Linked DNA regions of Homo sapiens: region 1 is linked to region 2. Evidence: promoter capture Hi-C in 16 types of primary human blood cells and fetal thymus (Javierre and others, 2016). All regions are on one chromosome and are shown on one strand. Each heading gives the region's core, a stretch centred on a gene start or on the middle of the fragment in contact. The rest is flanking DNA. Distances are from core to core; before and after follow the strand shown.

Region 1 (4,750 bases), core at 830-3,329, 1.9 Mb after region 2:
AATTAGCCCAGTGTGGTGGCAGGCGCCTGTAATCCCAGCTACTCAGGAGGCTGAGGCAGGAGAATCTCTTGAACCCAGGAGGCGGAGGTTGCAGTGAGCTGAGATTGCACCATTGCACTCCAGCTTGGGTGACAGAGTGAGACCCCATCTCAAAAAAAAAAAAAAAAAATTGCCTCTAAGCTAATATAATTTGTTCTATGCCTTGAACTAAATAATTTGAATATTTAGTTACCTGTAAGCTTCCTTTTCCTGTCGTTGTCAAAACCAAATAGGACTTATATTTCTGTTCGAAACATTTACTTATGTTTTGTTTTCCAGAGTCAAAAAGCTGTTTTTCCTTTTAAGCTATTTTATAGCTACAACAATTAAGTAAAAAATGAAGATTACCTCTCTTTTTCTACCTGATATCTCCAGAATCTGAAAATGATTTAAAATCCCATTGGCTCCAATCTGATTTGATATCAAACACCCTCCCTCTAGGCCCAGGGACAATTGCAGAAGAGGTAAACGCATGAGATTGTAAGGGCTGGTTTCGAGGGATAAAATTTGTTCAGACCCTCTGAATCAAAGATGGTTCACAAATACCTAAATAGCTGATAGCTCAATACATAAAACTTAGAGATAAGTCAATTTTGTAACCTCACGTTTTGGATTTTGGTTTTTGCCTCTTATGTTGCACAAAAGGTTGTTTTTTGTTGTTGTTGTTGTTTGTTTTATTTTGATTTTTTTGAGATGGAATCTCGCTCTGTCGCCCAGACCGGAGTACAATGGTGCAATCTCAGCTCACTGCAACCTCCGCCTCCCAGGTTCAAGTGATTCTCCTGCCTCAGCCTCCCGAGTAGCTAGGGTTACAGGCATGTGCCACCATGCCTGGCTCATTTTGTATTTTTAGTGGAGACAGGGTTTCACTATGTTGATCAGGCTGGTCTCAAACTCCTGACCTCGTGATCCACCCGCCTCAGACTCCCAAAGTGCTAGGATTACAGGCATAAGCCACCGCACCTGGCTGCACAAAAGGTTTTTAAGGGTGAATGAGTGCCTGCCCATCTCCTTTCCTATCTGTCCTAAAACATTTAATTAGCTGTCTTTCAGTCTTTTGGCTCTAAGTCTCTTGGCCATAGGGATCCCACCAAGGGACAAGATGGACCCAGTGCAGGTAGCACACAGCCCCAGCAACGATATAGGACAAAATAAAAGTTTGGTCATCAATGCCATCTCTGGCAAATCTTGGCCAAAAGAAGGGAATATAAACTAAAAATAAAATCCTAAACTCCTCACTGACTGAACGGATCCCCTCTTGGCCAAGGGGACCTCAGAAAAAACTTAAAACTGAGTTCCCAGCCACGATGGGATAGGAGAGCCCACTCATGTCGTTATAACTCCTCCCTTTGGTGACTTAGAGACAAGGCACTAGCATTTGCGTTAAAATATGTAAGACTGAAAACATAGAAGACTGAAAAACAGACTCTTTATGGCGATAACATACCAAATTATAAATAAGACCTGTGGCTGGGCATGGTGACTCACATCTGTAATCCCAGCACTTTGAGAGTCCAAGGCGGGCAGATCACTTGAGGCTGAGAGTTCGAGACCAGCCTGGCCAACATGGTGAACCCCCATCTCTACAAAAAATACAAAAATTAGCTGGACATAGTGGCGCATGCCTGTAATCCCAGCTACTTGGGAGGCTGAGGCAGGAAAACCACTTGAACCCAGGAGGTGGAGGTTGCAGTGAGCCAAGATGGCACAACTGCACTCCAGTCTGGGTGACAAAGTGAGACTCTGATTCCAAAAATAAATAAATTAATTAATTAATAAGATTTAGGGCCATGCCAGGCACAAGTTAAGTCCTACACCTCTACAATTAAAGAATAAACTCTATTCTCACTGCCACGAGGTTGTTCCTTTTCTCTAGCAGCTAAGTAAGTACTGACCTCAAGATAAACAATGTTAAAACGATTTGCAGCTCATCCAGCTCCAGATGCTAACTGACCCCATTCACCCACCATAACTAGCTTTCTCTTCTTTTGAAACAGCGTCTCACTCTGTCCTCCAGGCTAGAGTGCAGTGGTGCAATCCTGGCTGAGTGCAGCTTCAACCTCCCAGCCTCAAGCAATCCTCCCACCTCAGCCTCCCAAGTAGCTGGGCCTACAGGTGTGCACCACTAGGTGTACCAGTAGGTCCACCCGGGAGGTGGAGTTTGCACCCAGCTACTTTTTGTATTTTTGGTAGAGATGGGGTTTTGCCATGTTGCCTAGGCTGATCTCAAATTCCTGGGCTTAAACAATCCTCCCATCGTGGCCTCCCAAAGTGCTGGGACTACAGGTGTGAGCCACTATGCCCAGCCAACTACAGCTTTCATTGAACAAGAGACTGATTTCAGCAACTTTCTCCAGGTAAGACCACTGACTATGGATTGGTTCCGGCTGGTTCAGAGAGGCTGCATACTTGTGTGCTTTTGTGTCCTGGAAAGACCTTTTTACTATAAGGCCTAATTTTATTTTATGTATGTATATATTTTTATTTATTTGAGACGGAGTCTCCCACTATTGCCCAGGCTGGAGTGCTGTGGTGCCATCTCGGCTCACTGCAACCTCCGCCTCCTGGGTTCAAGTGATTCTCCTGCCTCAGCCTCCCAAGTAGCTAAGACTACAGGTGTGCACCACGGTGCCCAGCTAGTTTTTTTTTTATTTTTAGTAGAGACTGGGTTTCACCGTATTGGCCAGACCTCAGCCTCCCAAAGTGCTGGGATTACAGGCGCGAGCCACTGCACCCAGCCTATAAGGCCTAATTTTAGTACATTTTGATGCTAAGTCTCCACCCCAAGGTGAACATGAGTTGTATGTTACATGCATGTTTGTTCAGTATGCATGTTGTCAGGACCTTCATGAATATTCATAGCTCCTCCTATAACCTGTTGAATGTGTATGTTTAGCCAACCTGTTCAGCATGGAGCTCCTGCCCCAACCCCTCCTCCTTCAGAGGCACATTTTCCAGCCTGTGGGATGGCCACCTTGCTGGCTGTAACCCTTTATGAGAAAGAAAGTCACCCAGGCGCAGTGGCTCACACCTGTAGTCCCAGCAATTTGGGAGGCCAAGGCGGGCAGATCACTTAAACTCAGGAGTTCAAGACCAGCCTGGCCAACATGGCAAAACCCCATTTCTACAAAAAGTACCTGGGCATGGTGAAAGGCACCTATAGTCCCAGCTACCTGGGAGGCTGAGGCAGGAGGGTTGCTTGAGCCCAGGAGGCAGCGGTCGCAGCGAGTCATGATTGCATCACTGTACTCCAGCCTGGGCAACAGAGTATTTATGGATATTGTGGGGTTCTTTTTTCAATTAACAGTACAAATTCAGGAGAATCTCAGACAAATTATTAAAATTAATAAGACAGGGCTGGGCGAGGTGGCTCACACCTGTAATCCTAGCACTTTGGGAGGCTGAGGCGGGTGGATCACGAGGTCAGGAGTTGGAGACCAGCCTGGCCAACATAGTGAAACCCTGTCTCTACTAAAAATACAAAGAATTAACCAGGCGTAGTGGTGGGTGCCTGTAATCCCAGCTACTGGGGAGGCTGAGGCAGGAGAATCGCTTGAGCCCGGGAGGCGGAGGTTGCAGTGAGCTGAGATTGCGCCACTGCACTCCAGCCTGGGCAACAGAGACAGACTGCGTCTCAAAGGAAAAAAAAAAGTCTTTTTGTTCCTGTCTAGCTGCCCCACCCATTGTCTTCATGTTCCTGGAATATGTGTATAAAAAACAATGGATAGCCAATCAATAGCTTGTTATTTTAATGTAAATTTTTGGTAAACAATTCAGGAACTCCCCTTCTTTTCCTTTAAAAATCCTCTAGTAACCGCTACTAACTGGAGTGGATGTTCAGGGCAACTTGCATGCTCCGGGTTGCAGCCCTCAAGCTTGGCCCAAATAAACTCTCTACTTACATTAATTTTTCCTCAGCTTCTTCCTTTTAGGTTGCAAACCAAAAATAAAATCCTGGCCAGCCATGTTGGCTCATGCCTGTAATCCCAACATTTTGGGAGGCCAAGGCGGGTGGATTGCTTGAGCCCAGGAGTTCAAGATCAGCCTGGGCAGCATGGTAAAACCCCTTTTTAAATAAAAATACAAAAAATTAGCCAGGCATGATGGTGTGTACCTGAAGTCCCAGTTACTTGGGAGGCTAAAGTGGGAGCAATGCTTGAGCCCGAGAGGTCAAGGCTGCAGTGAGCTGTGGTTGCACCACTGTACTCCAGCCTTGGCGACAGAGTGAGACCCTATCTCAAAAAAGTTTTAAGGGCCAGGCACGGTGGCTCACGCCTGTAATCTCAGTACTTTGGGAGGCCAAGGTGGGCAGGTCACCTGAGGTCAGGAGTTTGAGACCAGCCTGACCAATATGATGAAACCCTGTCTCTACTAAAAATACAAAAATTAGCTGGGTGTGGTGGCGGGCACCTGTAATCCCAGCTACTTGGGAGGCTGGGACAGGAGAATTGCTTGAACCCGGGAGGTGGAGGTTGCAATGAGCCGAGATCACACCATTGCACTCCAGCCTGGGAGACGAGTGAAACTCCGTCTCAAAAAAAAAAAAAAAAAAAAGCTTTAAAAAAATAAATAAATAAATAAAAATCCTAAGCCCCTGGTGGACTGAACAGACCCCTTCTTGGCTAAGGGGACCCCAGAGAAACCTGAAAAACAGCATTCCTGGCCATGACAAGAAGGGAGGCTGGACATGTCTCGTTCTCCCCTCTCCCTT
Region 2 (4,187 bases), core at 1,573-4,072:
AGACACCACAAGAAAACTTCAGACCAGTATCTATGATGAATATGGATAAAAAAAATCACTCAACAAAATTGTATTAAACTGAATCCAGGAAGACAGATACTCCATGACCAACTGGAATTTATCTGAACGCAGGGGATAAGTGTCTTTTCAATATCTGAAAGTCAATTAATGTAACACACCACATTACTAGAACAAGGAAAAAAACCCATGATCATCATCTCAATGGATGTGGAAAAATCATTTAACCAAATCTGACACGTTTTCATGATAAACACACTCAACAAACTAGAAATAGAAGATACTTCCTCGGCTGGGCGTGGTAGCTCACGCCTATAATCCCAGCATTTTGGGAGGCCCAGGGGGGTGGATTACTGGAGGTCAGGAGTTCAAGACCAGCCTGGCCAACATGGTAAAACCCCATCTCTACTAAAAATACAAAACTAGCTGGGCGTGGCGGCCTGTGCCTGCAATCCCAGCTACTCAGGAGGCTGAGGCAGGAAAATCGCTTGAACCTGGGAGGCAGAGGTTGCAGTGAGCCAAGATCCAGCCACTGTACTCCAGCCTGGGTGACAGAGTGAGACACTATCTCAAACAAACAAAAAATAGGTTTTATCAGGTTGAGGAAGTACCCTTTTTTTTAATGATTTTTAGACAGTTTCCCTTTTTTAGCTGGGATTACAGGCACCGGCCACCAACCTCAGCTAACTTTTTGTATTTTTAGTAGAGATGGGATTTCTCCATGTTGGCCAGGCTGGTCTCAAACTCTGGACCCCACGTGATCCGCCCGCCTCGACCTCCCAAAGGGTTGGGATTACAGGCGTGAGCCACTGTGCCCAGCCTGATAAAACCTATTTTTTAAGCACCCACAGCTATCATCATACCCAAAGGTGAAAGACTGGATGCCTCCTCCCTGAAATCAGGAGCAAGACAAGGATGTCCACTCTTGCTGCTTCTAGTCAATATTGTACTGGAGCTTCTAGATAGGGCAGCTAGGCAAGGAGAAGAAATAAAAGGCATCCAGATTAGAAAGGAAGAGATAAACTGATCTCTATTCACAAATGACACGCTTTTGTATAAAATCCCAAGGAATCCACTAAAACACTAGAACAACTAATAAATGCCACTAAAAGACAAGAAGAACTAATAAATGGGTTTAGCAAGGTTGCAGGATAAAAGATCAGTACACAAAAAGCCCTTAGAGTCACACTTGACCTTTCCGGGTCACACTCCACATCCCATATAACAGTAGATGGCCTCCTGCCTCCTCCTCAGCCCTTCCTAGTCTGTTCTTCACCCAGGAGTCAGAATGACCCTTTTAAAGGGTTAGTCATATCCTTCCGTGTGCTCAGTCTTCCGAAGGCTGCCCATTTCCTGCAGAGAAGGGGCCACAGTTCTGACTGTGCAGGACCTGTCTGCATCCCTCCATGTCCCCACCTCCCATTTCCTACCAGTCCTTCCAGCTCCTGCGTTCTCGACTTAGTGGCCTCTACTGTGTTTCTTACACTCCAGGCTCTCGTGTCTCAGAGGCTCTGTCTGCCGTGCTCCTTGCTCAAGACAGTACTTCTGCAGATATCCTTACCCTCGACGCCCACGTCCCGCCGGTCTTTGCTCAAATAAGTGCCCTCCTCCTATGGCTTTCCTTGACCGCTCTGCCCTGTCCACCTCGTGTTCTTTTCAGACGGCTGACTCAAGAAAAAATAGACAATCTCAACAGACCTATAACAAGTGAAGAGACTCAATTAGTAACCAAAAAACTATGAATCAAATAAGTCATCAAAAAAGCCCAGGCCCAAATGGCTTCAAGGTTGAATTGAAGCCTGCACGTGGGTTGGTATGTGAATGACGGACTGCCTGGGTCCTCTGGGCACCTGGCATTTCATACATGTTCCGCCTCTGGCACGGGGTGTCTCGACCAGGTACAGACAGGCTGGGAGCCCCGCGCCGGGCGCCCGCTCCCTGGAAGCTCGACCTCTCCCTGCCGTCAAGGCGCCGGTGGGCGGCACGTGGGCCGGCTCTCCCGGGGGCAGTTCTCTATTTCGCTGGTGAGGTTCTCAGACCAAATCCTCGGAATGCAAACTCTCACGGCGTTCCCGTAATTCTCAGCCCAGCGCGGGCCCCGACGCAGGCTCCAGGGGAACGAAGTCAGCGTCCCTTCCGGGGGATGCGCCGGCGGGGCCGCACCTGTTTCTGCCTCAGGGGTCCAAACGCCCACCTTCCCTGCACCGGGACGGGGGTCTGGAGACTGGCACGTCCACCTGGTGCCCGTCTGCTGGGCTGTCGCCTGCCGAGGTCGCCGCCGGCCACACCCACGAGGTCCCCAGGGCGCCGGCGGCGAGACCTCGGCCGGCCAGGGGGCCGGGCTGTGGCTGAGGTGGGACGAGCCAGGGCCGGGGAGGAGACACGGCGCTAAAAGAGGGCAGCTGCGGGCTCGGCAGGATCCCCGCCGCCGACCCACTCCACCCACCCCGCGCCGCCCACTCCCCGCTGCCTACGCCGCGCTCCACACCGCGGGCCTTAGAGCCTGAGGAAAGCAACGGGGCAGGCGCGGACCAGGGCGGGTCCTACTGCGCCTGCGGAAGCGGGCGGGGAGGGGCGGGTCGACGCTCACTGCGCCTGCGGAAAGGGGCGGGGCAGGCACAGGCCTGCGGGTGCCACCTACTGCGCCTGCGGAAAGGGGCGGGGCGGGCGCGGGCTGGCGGGCGGTGCCTACTGCGCCTGCGGAAAGGGGCGGGGCAGGCGCGAGAAGGGAGCGGAGCTGGGGGCGGGGTCGAGGGCGGGGTGGCGGGCGGTGCCTACTGCGCCTGTGCGAGGCCCCGGCGGTGAGCGCGCTCCCGCTCCTTGGCCACCGCCTCAGCCGCTGTCGCCGCCGCCGCCGCTCACCCGGGACCGCGCACGCGCTGCCACCGCCCCCGGCCCGCTCCCGCCCCCGCGCCCGCCCCCGCCCCCGGCCCGCGCCCTCCTGCCGCCGCCTCTTTGGGCCGCGGGCTCGGCACCTCCTCCGCTCGGGCTCAGCGCCCGCAGCATGCAGCAGCCGCGGGGGCGGCGACGGCGGCGGCTGTGAGGTGAGGCGGGGGCCGCGCTCGGGCGCCCCTCCCGGCTGGCCGGCTGCGGGGCCGAGTGGTGGCTCGGGGCGCACCGGGCCCGGCGCGGCGAGGGGCGGCGGCGCCTTTGTTGCGGCCGGGCCGCCGCCTCAGCCCTTTGTCTGCAGATGGTGGACGCGAGCGGCCGCGCCGCCGCCGAGGGCTGGAGGAAGATGGAGGCCCCGCCGGACGGCGCCGCCGACCTCGTGCCCCTGGACCGCTACGACGCGGCGCGCGCCAAGATCGCCGCCAACCTGCAGTGGATCTGCGCCAAGGCCTACGGCCGAGGTGGGCCGGGTGAGGGGCGCGGGGCGGGGGCCAGGGGCGCGGGCCGGGGCCGGGGGACGCGGCCGGGGTCCGGCCGGGTCGGGGTCCGCGCGCCGCGCCTTTGTGCCGCGTCCGCACAGGGTCGGGGCTGGGCCGGCCGCCTCCGAGGTCCTGGCGGCGCCCGGGCAACGCGGAGCGTGGGGACGCGGTCACCTGGCGAGTGGGCGTCCCTGCGGCGGAGGGCGGCGTGGGTCGGGGCTTCCGCTCCTATTTCGGGAGTGCCCCCAGCCTCCCGTTGGCGGCGGCGGCGGCGGGAAGGAGCTGCCCGGTTCTGGGCGCAGGGAGGGACCATGGGGACGCGGGGCCGCCGTCTGAGGCGCCGCTTCCCGGCGCGCCGGGCATCGTCCAGTGCTGGACCTGTGATTCCGAGCCTTGCACTTGTTATGAATTTTGATGCTTACAAGCTGTCAGCTGTTGAATTCCCCAACTAGAAATTGCGTATTCCGCGCATTGTGCTTAATCATAATGATCCCCTTTGGTTAATTCCTGTTTGGAAGAACTAGGTAACCTTGTTACTCAGTCCAGTTTGTTAGGCCCTAATGTGCTTAGTGGATTAAGACGCTTCTGTTTCGTGCCCTGGGAACAGGACAGACCTAGTGATTCTCGTCAGTGGCTGACTTCTTTATTAATTTCAGGTGCTTTGTTTCAGGTACAATTAAAGGTTAATATTTCTGCAATCCTCTTTTCATTTGAAGCATTCTTAAAATATTTGCCTTTATTCTGGTGAAAAATTACCCTTTTTAGAGTAAGACTAAAGGAGACAGCCCTTCCAGAGAAGAG

Evidence for each region. The method cuts DNA at HindIII sites, captures the fragments that hold promoters and counts their contacts. A CHiCAGO score of 5 or more calls a contact.
Region 1: a contact is called between a fragment that was not itself captured here and the fragment with the promoter of CAMSAP1 in region 2, in 1 of 17 cell types (neutrophils). The highest score is 5.7, in neutrophils.

What each region holds. Positions count from the first base shown.
Region 1 is chr9:134,018,931-134,023,680 of GRCh38, reverse strand. No RefSeq gene overlaps it. Among named protein-coding and RNA genes, the nearest start is that of BRD3OS, 4.2 kb to the left of the region's middle. The HindIII fragment of the contact is 3,675 bases long and covers 242-3,916 here.
Region 2 is chr9:135,906,181-135,910,367 of GRCh38, reverse strand. CAMSAP1 (calmodulin regulated spectrin associated protein 1) reads left to right here and starts at 2,822. Exons shown (of 17, transcript NM_015447.4): 1 at 2,822-3,368. The coding sequence starts at 3,209. It overlaps CAMSAP1-DT (CAMSAP1 divergent transcript), which reads right to left and starts at 2,535. Exons shown (of 2, transcript XR_007061860.1): 1 at 1,449-2,535. RefSeq lists silencers at 2,254-2,933, 2,974-3,083, 3,164-3,233, 3,634-3,683. The HindIII fragment of the contact is 15,122 bases long and covers 1-4,187 here.